Regions from separate parts of the Homo sapiens genome. Here region 2 is linked to region 1. Evidence: promoter capture Hi-C in 16 types of primary human blood cells and fetal thymus (Javierre and others, 2016). All regions are on one chromosome and are shown on one strand. Each heading gives the region's core, a stretch centred on a gene start or on the middle of the fragment in contact. The rest is flanking DNA. Distances are from core to core; before and after follow the strand shown.

Region 1 (4,191 bases), core at 746-3,245:
ATAGAGCTGTTTCTCCTCCAATGTCCTCTAATATCCCCCAAACAATTAAATTTCCACGTGTATGAAAGAAAAGCCACCCCTCTTGCTTCACCATTATTAGAAGCATTCTCACATTCCACATCAACAATTAAAAAAGTAAGTAAGAAAAATTATTAAACAGATTACATTAAATGCTATATATGAGAAGAAGGCATTTAAGACAGTCTTGTCATCCACTAATTCATATAACCTACTGTAAGGGTTGTATGGTTGAAAACAATTTTCATAAACCACAAATAGCTCGTAAAACATACCTGCAATATCTTCTAGCTCCTTGGTATCAACCCTGTAACAAAAAGTTGCAACACAATTTTAACATAATGCTACACAAAAGGCCTTGTTTGTTGGGAAGAAATGTCTTGTGTGAAATGTTCTGCATAGAACATAACAGTGATGACATGATCCAAAGCTGACTTTTCCTAAAAGACCTTATCTGACAGGCAAAAGGGACTTAAACACTTTACCCCGTGTGTTCATCTGTTTCAGCAAAAGATCCTCTTTCCCCATGCTCATCAGTTACATCTCCCTCCTTTGTCTCTGTAACAGGTTTTCTTTCCTCATGCTCATGACTTACTGGATCCTTTCCTGCATTAAAATAAAAAAGACAAACCTTTTTTAGAGGAAGACGCTGTTGTGGACATTTTTCATAGAGAAACGTACTATTTGTAGACTTTTTTGGCTCTCCGCCAATTAAAGCTTTACCGCAGAGCTATACATGGAATCGCCGGCTCCTAACCATTTTACGGAGGCATTTTTGGAAGCCCTTCGGGTTCAAGTCCCAGTAAACAACGTTCACAGGTCAGATCCCTTGGATGTCAGGACCGCATCCATGGAGAAGAGCTGCTCTGAGAGCATCTGTAACCCTGCTATGAGGGGGAGCCTCCCACGGGAAGCCTAAGGCCCTTGAGCCTGCTTTGAAAACCTGGGGCATCTCAGCACATGCACGGTGAGCTCCAAAGCCACGAAGGGGCCGGGGGCCTCGGGCTGCCCATGTGCGCCCCGCCCAGAAAGCAGACAGACTGTTGGGCGTGCACCTTCTTCTAGGTCCCCTTGGGCTGTGTTTACCTGCAAGCTCCATTTCCTGGGCGGCCATAACTTGAACCTCCAACTGGTCCTTGGCAGCCATCCTGCTGCCCTTCCTGCCCACGGGCTCCGTGGCTGACTGGCCTGGGAAGCTAGAGGCGACCTCTGAACCTGGTGAGTGCAAAGACACACTAAGGACACTAAGGAAACGAGGCGTGTTAAATGAAAATCATCAGGATCGCAGGTTCAAGGGCGCCCCGGGTCTCCCGTGGGAGCAGGAGGGGACGCGGAGAAGATGCCATCATCCCCTCCTGTCCTGGCCCGTCCAGCGCTTCCCCGGGGCTGGCTGCAGAGCTCGCAGAATTCCGCGGCCTCTGCGGGATTCTTGCAGTGCCCTTGGGACAGAGCCTGGCCCTGCCCCTGGGTTCCCCAGCGACCCAGTGGAGTCGGGAGGGCCGCGGGGTGACACAGGATCTCCCCAGCCATCTCCATGGGAATGAGCCGGTACGCACCTGTTTCTGACAGGGGCAGGGACTGCCCATTCGCCAGCCTGGACGCCCAGGGGACCCCTGGTGACCCCAAGTATCCCGTCCTGATGGGCAGCCAGACAAGACGGACCCACGTTGACCCCCCGACCCCCCCCCAAACGCTGCACACATGCACAGGCCTCCGGGACCCTCCTGGGTCCTGGGGACCACTCAGGCAGCTCCAACTCCCTGCCCTGACCCAGGCCCCAGGCGACAATGCCTGGGCCATTTCCTCACAGATCAGCCTGGCTGCCCCGCCCTTCACACCCTCTTCCCCAAAGGGCCTCTGGCCCGCCTTCCCCGCATCCCCACCGAGGGCGTCTCACCTGAGGGAGCCCTGATGTTGCTCCCTCAGAGGACCTGCAGAGGCTGGCACCGCGAAGCTCCTCCGAGGGCCTGGGTCCTCTGTTCTCACGAGAGCAGCAGCCGCCCCGGCTGCCCGCGCTCCTCGCTGATTGGTCGGCCCAGTGCGCATGCAGGTGGCGGGCGGCATGGGGCCACGCCCCCTGCAGGCACACCCTCCCCCTCACGGACTGTCCATGGCTGCTGTGGACTCATTGGGTGGCTCTCTGAGGCCTCTGTCCCCACGATATTCCAGCTCCTCATCCTGGTGAAGGAAGCAAGGACTCGGGAGTGGTGAGTGCCAGGGGACCCTGCCCTAAGGAATGGAGGCCAAGTGAACGGGGCCTAGGACCTTGCCCCCAGGCTCGTTCCAGCCACTCCTGCCCCTTTGGGTGGAATGGCCATCACCCTGCGGGTGGAGCCCAGGCTCCCTCCCATGTCCTGTGTGCTTCCAACACGCCCAGCTGCATCCTTTTTATCAATGGATTGTGCTTTTATGTTTTATCTAAGAAAATTGTTGACTCCCAGCAGGGGCAGGTAGTTTTCTCCTATCCTACTCCATTCCCTCACACTGGGCATTGCATGATTCTGCAGTGGATATACAAAGTTAAAGACTTTATGTCTAGATTTCTCATGATGTGGTCATTTCTTTTCTTTCATTTTTCTTTTTTCTTTTTTTTTTTTTTTTTGACAGGGTCTTGCTCTGTCACCCAGGCTGGGCTGCAATGGTGTAATCACTACTCACTGTAGCCTCAACTGCCCGCGCTCAAGGGATCCTCCCACCACAGCCTCCCAAGTAGCTGGGACTACAGGCATGTCCCACCATGCCCAGCTAATTTTATTTTATTTATTTATTTATTTTTAGAGACAGAGTCTTACTCTGTCCCCAGGCTGGAGTGCAGTGGCACGATCTCGGCTTCCTGCAACCTCTGCCTCCCTGGTTCAAGCAATTCTCCTGCCTCAGCCTCCCAAGTAGCTGGGACTATAGGCGCACGCCGCCACGCCTGGCTGATTTTTTTTTTTTTTTTTTTGTATTTTAGTAGAGACAGGGTTTCACCGTGTTGCCCAGGCTGGTCTCGAACTCCTGAGCTCAGTCAGTCTGCCCGCCTCAGCCTCCCAAAGTGCTAGGATTACAGGCATGAACCACCGCTCCTGGCCAATTTTGTTTATTTTTTGCAGAGATGAGGTCTCACTATGTTGCCCAGGCTGGTCTGCAACTCCTGGGCTCAAGCGATCCGCCCGCCTCAGCCTCCTAAAGTGCTGGGGTTACAGGCTTGAGCCATCGTGCCCAGCCCGATTATTTCCACAGCTGGGTTGGAAGCCATCTTTCCCTGACAAGGCAGCTCACCTTTATATCTAAGAGTTCTCTATAACCTAAAGAGAATCCCTAATTACTGACACTAAATACCACCAGCTGTCCCCATTTCCCCACAATCTACTTGGTACCCAAATTAGCCAATGAGACATCTTGGGGAATTTTAAGCCATGATTGCTTCAGGTTTCTCTCTCTTTCGAGCTTAAGATGTGTAACATTAAGAAAGAAGACAAATCTTGCAGAGGGCTTTGTGCAACCAGTCTTACAGCTTTCTATCCCATCTGGATCAATGTAATTTTCATATGCTTCATCAAAGATTTCAGCTGAAAGTACTATACCAGGTTCTGTCTATAATTGGAAACACATACACACATACACCAACTACTGGTATTCAGCTAAGAATTCAATGCTGGCTCATTTTTCTTTAAAAGAATGTCAAATCAAGGAACAATTCTCCATCACAAAGTGGAATTTGATGTCAGGTGAAGACAAATGGGGATTACAGAGCTACTTCTTTGGCATAACAGCCTAGAAACAAACTGAAAAGGATTCTGCAATTTTAAATAGGCACAAAGACATTCTTTTCAGAACACCAAGTGTCCAAGTTACAAAACCCTGAAGAAATTCTTTTAAACTTTGGATGGAGCAATTTATCTCTTTTTCCCAACTGGAGTATTTGTGAGATGTCTCCCAGAAAGAAACAACTCAATACACAAATCATTAAGCCTTTGTAAAGGGAGGAAGTCTATTTGAAGCAACTCTGGGTTGCGGAAACAGGTTTTGTGAACTAACCAAAGCCTTTAGGGCAAACATGGTCACTTCAATTTTTTTTTTTTCCCACTAGAGGTTATCTACAAAGACCACAGGAAATGTTTAAGCAAATTTAAAGGAGATTTCTCAAGAGTTATTAGAATAAGTACTTTAATTTAGAGAATTGGTTTCTAA
Region 2 (4,695 bases), core at 2,044-4,543, 240 kb after region 1:
CATAATTGTCACATTTTCATCCAACAGAATTTAATGAATATAGAACCAAACTCATTGTATTGTCTTTTGTTTTTGTACAAGACATAGTTTTTAAAGGACATTTTCTTCTTCACTTGAACATGAAACATGGCATAAAAGCATGCAGGGTATTTGATTATTTCAGTAAACAGTATCCTCATTTTCTCAGATCTCATCTTGCTCAAAATTCCTCAATAGCTCTCCATTGCCTATGAAATAAAACCTAACCTTATTAGCATGGACTAAACACACCTTGGATCTGGCTTCTGACTCATCTGCCCCCATCCTTTCCCATTACATATTACATCCCAGCAGCAGTCATTAATAGTAATGCCCTCAAAATGCTATGCTCTCTCCTGTCCTTGCATCTTCACATATATCATTTCCCAAAATGACTTCCCTGATTTCCATACCTGGAAAACTCCTATTCATCCTTCAAATCGTAGCTCAAAGCCATCATACCCTATCACCCCCAGACCAACTACCTCTCCTCTCCCCTATACTTTGAACACTTCTTATATGTCCATCAGCAGAGGGTCTCAACCTTGGCTACCTACCTTGTGAGATAGGAATAGCACTGGGCAGTTGCAGGAGGATGGAAAAACCCAGACAACAGCTAAATCAAGAACTAGGCAAAGAAATCACAGGATAACAGAAAACCCCAAATAGGGGAGAGAAAATGACAAAAATCTTGGTCAGGGTGACGTGTCCATGACTCTTCTGGGCAAACCAACATAAGGGAGAAAGGGGGCAGTAATGGGGAGTTGGGGCAGGGCTGAAATCCCCTTCTTTTCCAGAAAATCTAATGATTATTTTACCCCTTAATTTAAAAAAACCCCCAAAATTAGAAACCCATACTCCACTGTGGGCAACTCATTCTTATGAGCACGCCCACACTTCTCTCTTAAGTGTGTACCTTTGCTTTGCAATAAAGCTTCCTGTCTTTCACATCATTCCAACTTATCCCCAAATTCTTTCTTGTGACAGTGTCAAGAATCCAAAAAACTGGTTGGGGCTGGGGTCTCACTAGTGTCTCACAGTATCTTTTAAAACTCCCCAAGTGATTTTAATATTTGAATACTACCTTTTTTTCTTCCCCAAATTGAAGACTCCAGACAAGCTATGACCATGCTTTTAATCTCATATAAGCCTAGTGCCTAGCCCTATATAGGAATAAATACATAGAGCTTGAGTGATAACTTCTCTCACAATATGTTTTCAGCACTTCTCTCACAATATTTTTTCGTCACTAATGAATTCTTTAGAAAATAACTCCTGAGAGTAGCAAAAACTGCTTAATTCAAGTTGACCCATTTAAATATTTTTAATATTTCTACCAGCAAGTTTAGTTTATATCTCTAAATATATCCATCTTTGACGAACCATCTTCTATCACACTTAGAGAGGAAGGGAAGCTATCTCTCCAGAATTGCTATTTTTAAATGGTTTTGATATATCTTATTTATTTAGCACTATCAGGAAAAATAAGAAATATAATTAGCAAGTTAGCTGCTTTCAAAAGTAATCATTGCCTGAAATGGGGATAACATGGGTAAGTACCTAGTTGTGTACCTGGTCCATGCCGTCAACAAAAAGATTCAAACTCTTTTTGACTGTTCTATCAGTCTTAAGGGCTCTGTTTTAATGTTAATGCTGGTCAGCTGTGCCCAGATTCCAATGGGAGGAGGGTGTAATGAGGCATGTCCGACCCCTACTTCCCATCACGGCCTGAACTGGTTTTTTAGGTTAACTTTGGAATGCCCTTGGCCAAGGGGAGGGCCCATCAGTCTGTTGCATGGCTTGATTTTTGGTTTACAATGCTGTATGCTCAGTAATGGCAGCTGTTATCATTGTGTGCTTCCTCTTTCAGGAAGGGCTGCCTTCTTAAGTCACCTCACAGGAGGGCATCTGGAGATAACACTAAAAGAGGAAATAAGATGACTTGCCAGGCACTTTCTTTCATTTATGCACAGTCCATGAGATTTCCTGACCTCTTTCATCACAAACAAAGAGGTGTGTGCAGCTTTAGAAATTTAATGGACATGCTACCCATGTCATAAAGAAGAAACTGTTTCAGTTGTTTGTCTTTTCTTACTCCATTTGGCTACTGCTATATAGGGCCTGCTTTCCTAGACCCTTGTGTTTTCCTCAAATCTCTGATTCTACATTTACATGAAAAGCCTTTAGACTGATTGCTCTGAGATTAGCCAACTGTTTCCTAGGTTTGATCACACAATTCCACTCCTACACAATTCCTTCTCTCCTAGGTCTTGTGATTCCCCATCCCCAGCTGAGTCATTCAATTGCAATCACATTTAATTGTCTCCACCTGAGTGGCTTTTTCTTTGGGCCGCTTGCCTTTGTCAAGCAATTGGAGGCAACATTTATTTATGCACATAGCATTTCTAAGGATCCATGGTACCAAGTGACTCTTCCAGATGAAGTAAAGTGACAGCTCTCCACATGATAATGACAGTGACATTTGAATTAGCTGCAAGTCTCCAGAAACAGGCATATTTCAATTTAATTTTTATCCAGCTCAAGATGAACTTAAAAAATTGTTTTCAACCCTTGGTTTCATACTTTGGTTAATACCATGCATTAATTCAGTGAGGTTTTTGTTTTATAGTTATGAATTCAGTAGTGGATGCATAATTATGACCATAACTTTTCACTGACTAGGGCTTCAAAAATTGATAAAGGAGGCACAGAAGAACAGATCTTCTTGGCATAGACTAGCTAGTTGTTGAAAAAAACCCCTCTCCTCTGCCTCCTGGGCACCCAGCCAGGCTACATTTCCCAGCTGTCCTTGCAGTTAAGTGTGGTCATGTGACTGCATCCTGGTCAATGGAATGCCGACAGAAGTAAAATGAGTGACTTTCAGGTCTAGCCCATTAAAAACCTCCAGGCACCATCCTCCATGTTCTTTCTTATTGGCTGCTGATAGCAGCAGGAGGCAGACAAATGCCTAGGCAGACAGGGGCAGGTCCCTAGTGAAACCCCACCTTCAAGCCTGTCTTTGGCTTGTTTAAAGCCTGAAGGCCAAGTTACAAGTCAAATCCACAGACCAGATTGAGAACCTGTCGTCCCATTTGGTGTGCTTTCCTTTGATTTATCCCCACCTTTCACCGATTTTACATATACCTACTCTTCCCTTATTGTTTTTACACTGTGCCCACCTTTGATTGGTGCCTTTGTTTTAACTGTTTTTGCATACTCACACACCAACTGAATGTTGCCTTTTCCAATGCTACCTACGGCCTGCCCCTCCCCTATCCTGTGCCTATAAAAAATCCAGACTCAGCCACACTGGGGTAAGAGATGACCTGACTTTGAGGAAGAGATGATCTCACTTTGGGGGAAAGGTGACCTGACTTTGGGGTAGAGGCCAACTGACTTCAGGGGAGAGATGACCTGATTTTGGGGGAGAGACGACCTGACTTCAGGGAAGAGACAACTCAATCTTCCCATCCCCTCTCCACTGAGAGCTGTTTCGTCACTCAATAAAATTCTCTGCCCTCATCACCCTTCAACAGTCAGCATGACCTCATTCTTCTTGGATGCGGGACAAGAGCTCTAGACCCACTGAATGTGGGTACCCAGAAAGGCTGTGGCACTGGCCCTCTGCCCTCACCAGTGGGGGGGCAGCGCCGCACAAAACAGAAGCAGTGGCAGGGCCAAACCAGTCCCAGAGCCATGCTGGTCCTGGAGCTGTGGGCCAGAGGGGGACAATAGGCTGACTAGCTGCTAACATACTGCAGTCCATCTGGCTGTGAACAGCAGAACAAAAAGAGCTAATTAGCACACTGTAACAGCCACTCTGGGGCTTTGGGGTCACAGGCACCCCTGCCTGGGTACCACCACATTCCCCTTGGGGCAACATGCCTGGTCTGGCGGCAGGCCCTGCATGGAACTTGCTTCTGTGTCGGCACTTGGAGTGGCCAGCTGGACCCCACACTCACTCACTCATGTGTTCCCTCCCCCTAGGGGCTGAGGATGCAGTTGTGCAGCTGCAGGAGTTACAGGCCGGAATGCAAGCCAGATGTGGCCCGGTGGGCCGTGTAGAGGGTGTGCCCCCTGCTGCAAGTCTGGCAAAGGGGCTGTGAAAAATCCTGTGTCACCGTGACCTTGTAAGTCCTATGTTAAAAAATGCAAAGCCACAAGATGCAAGAAGCCTGGGTACCAAAATTATCGCTTGGAGGAATGTTACCCATCTATCAGGAATACCTCTTTTGGACCTTACATGAAAAGGAAATACACTTCTATTTTCTTAAGCCACTGAGATTTGGGGTTTATGTGTTATCGCATACTTTACCTTAACTGGTAAAGATAAATGCTGTACGTCTTAAAATAAAGTACTATTTTTCTCCTAATAACAGGGATATTTTCATTGTTTACTATTTGGAAAATACTCCATACTAGGTGTTAATGTCATCTGAAATATGTTTTTAGGAATAACTCTTTGGAAAATAACTTTGCTAGTCATAACTTTCTTTCTTTTTCCTGAAAGTGGAAGGTAAAGGAGGAGGAAAAAACCTCAATCGAGATGCATTATTCTAGTTAAAGTTCTAGCAATGACTCAGGTTATTCTAATAACTAAATTAACTCAGCGAATCAAGCAATTTTGGAAATTGCAACTTTCTCAGGGCTCCAAGCCATGATACACTCAATGTTTCA

What was found. Contacts are between HindIII fragments. The CHiCAGO score rates a contact against its expected background, and 5 or more counts as called.
Region 2: a contact is called between a fragment that was not itself captured here and the fragment with the promoter of FAM9C in region 1, in 1 of 17 cell types (naive B cells). The highest score is 5.0, in naive B cells.

Annotation. Positions count from the first base shown.
Region 1 is chrX:13,042,625-13,046,815 of GRCh38, forward strand. It overlaps FAM9C (family with sequence similarity 9 member C), which reads right to left and starts at 1,996. Exons shown (of 8, transcript NM_174901.6): 1 at 1,916-1,996; 2 at 1,105-1,233; 3 at 504-624; 4 at 294-325. The coding sequence starts at 1,165. It overlaps LOC105373133 (a long non-coding RNA gene), which reads left to right and starts at 2,109. Exons shown (of 4, transcript NR_171577.1): 1 at 2,109-2,225. The HindIII fragment of the contact is 8,868 bases long and covers 734-4,191 here.
Region 2 is chrX:13,281,877-13,286,571 of GRCh38, forward strand. The region is part of intron 1 of LINC02154 (long intergenic non-protein coding RNA 2154); the gene reads right to left. Among named protein-coding and RNA genes, the nearest start is that of LINC02154, 19 kb to the right of the region's middle. The HindIII fragment of the contact is 4,687 bases long and covers 951-4,695 here.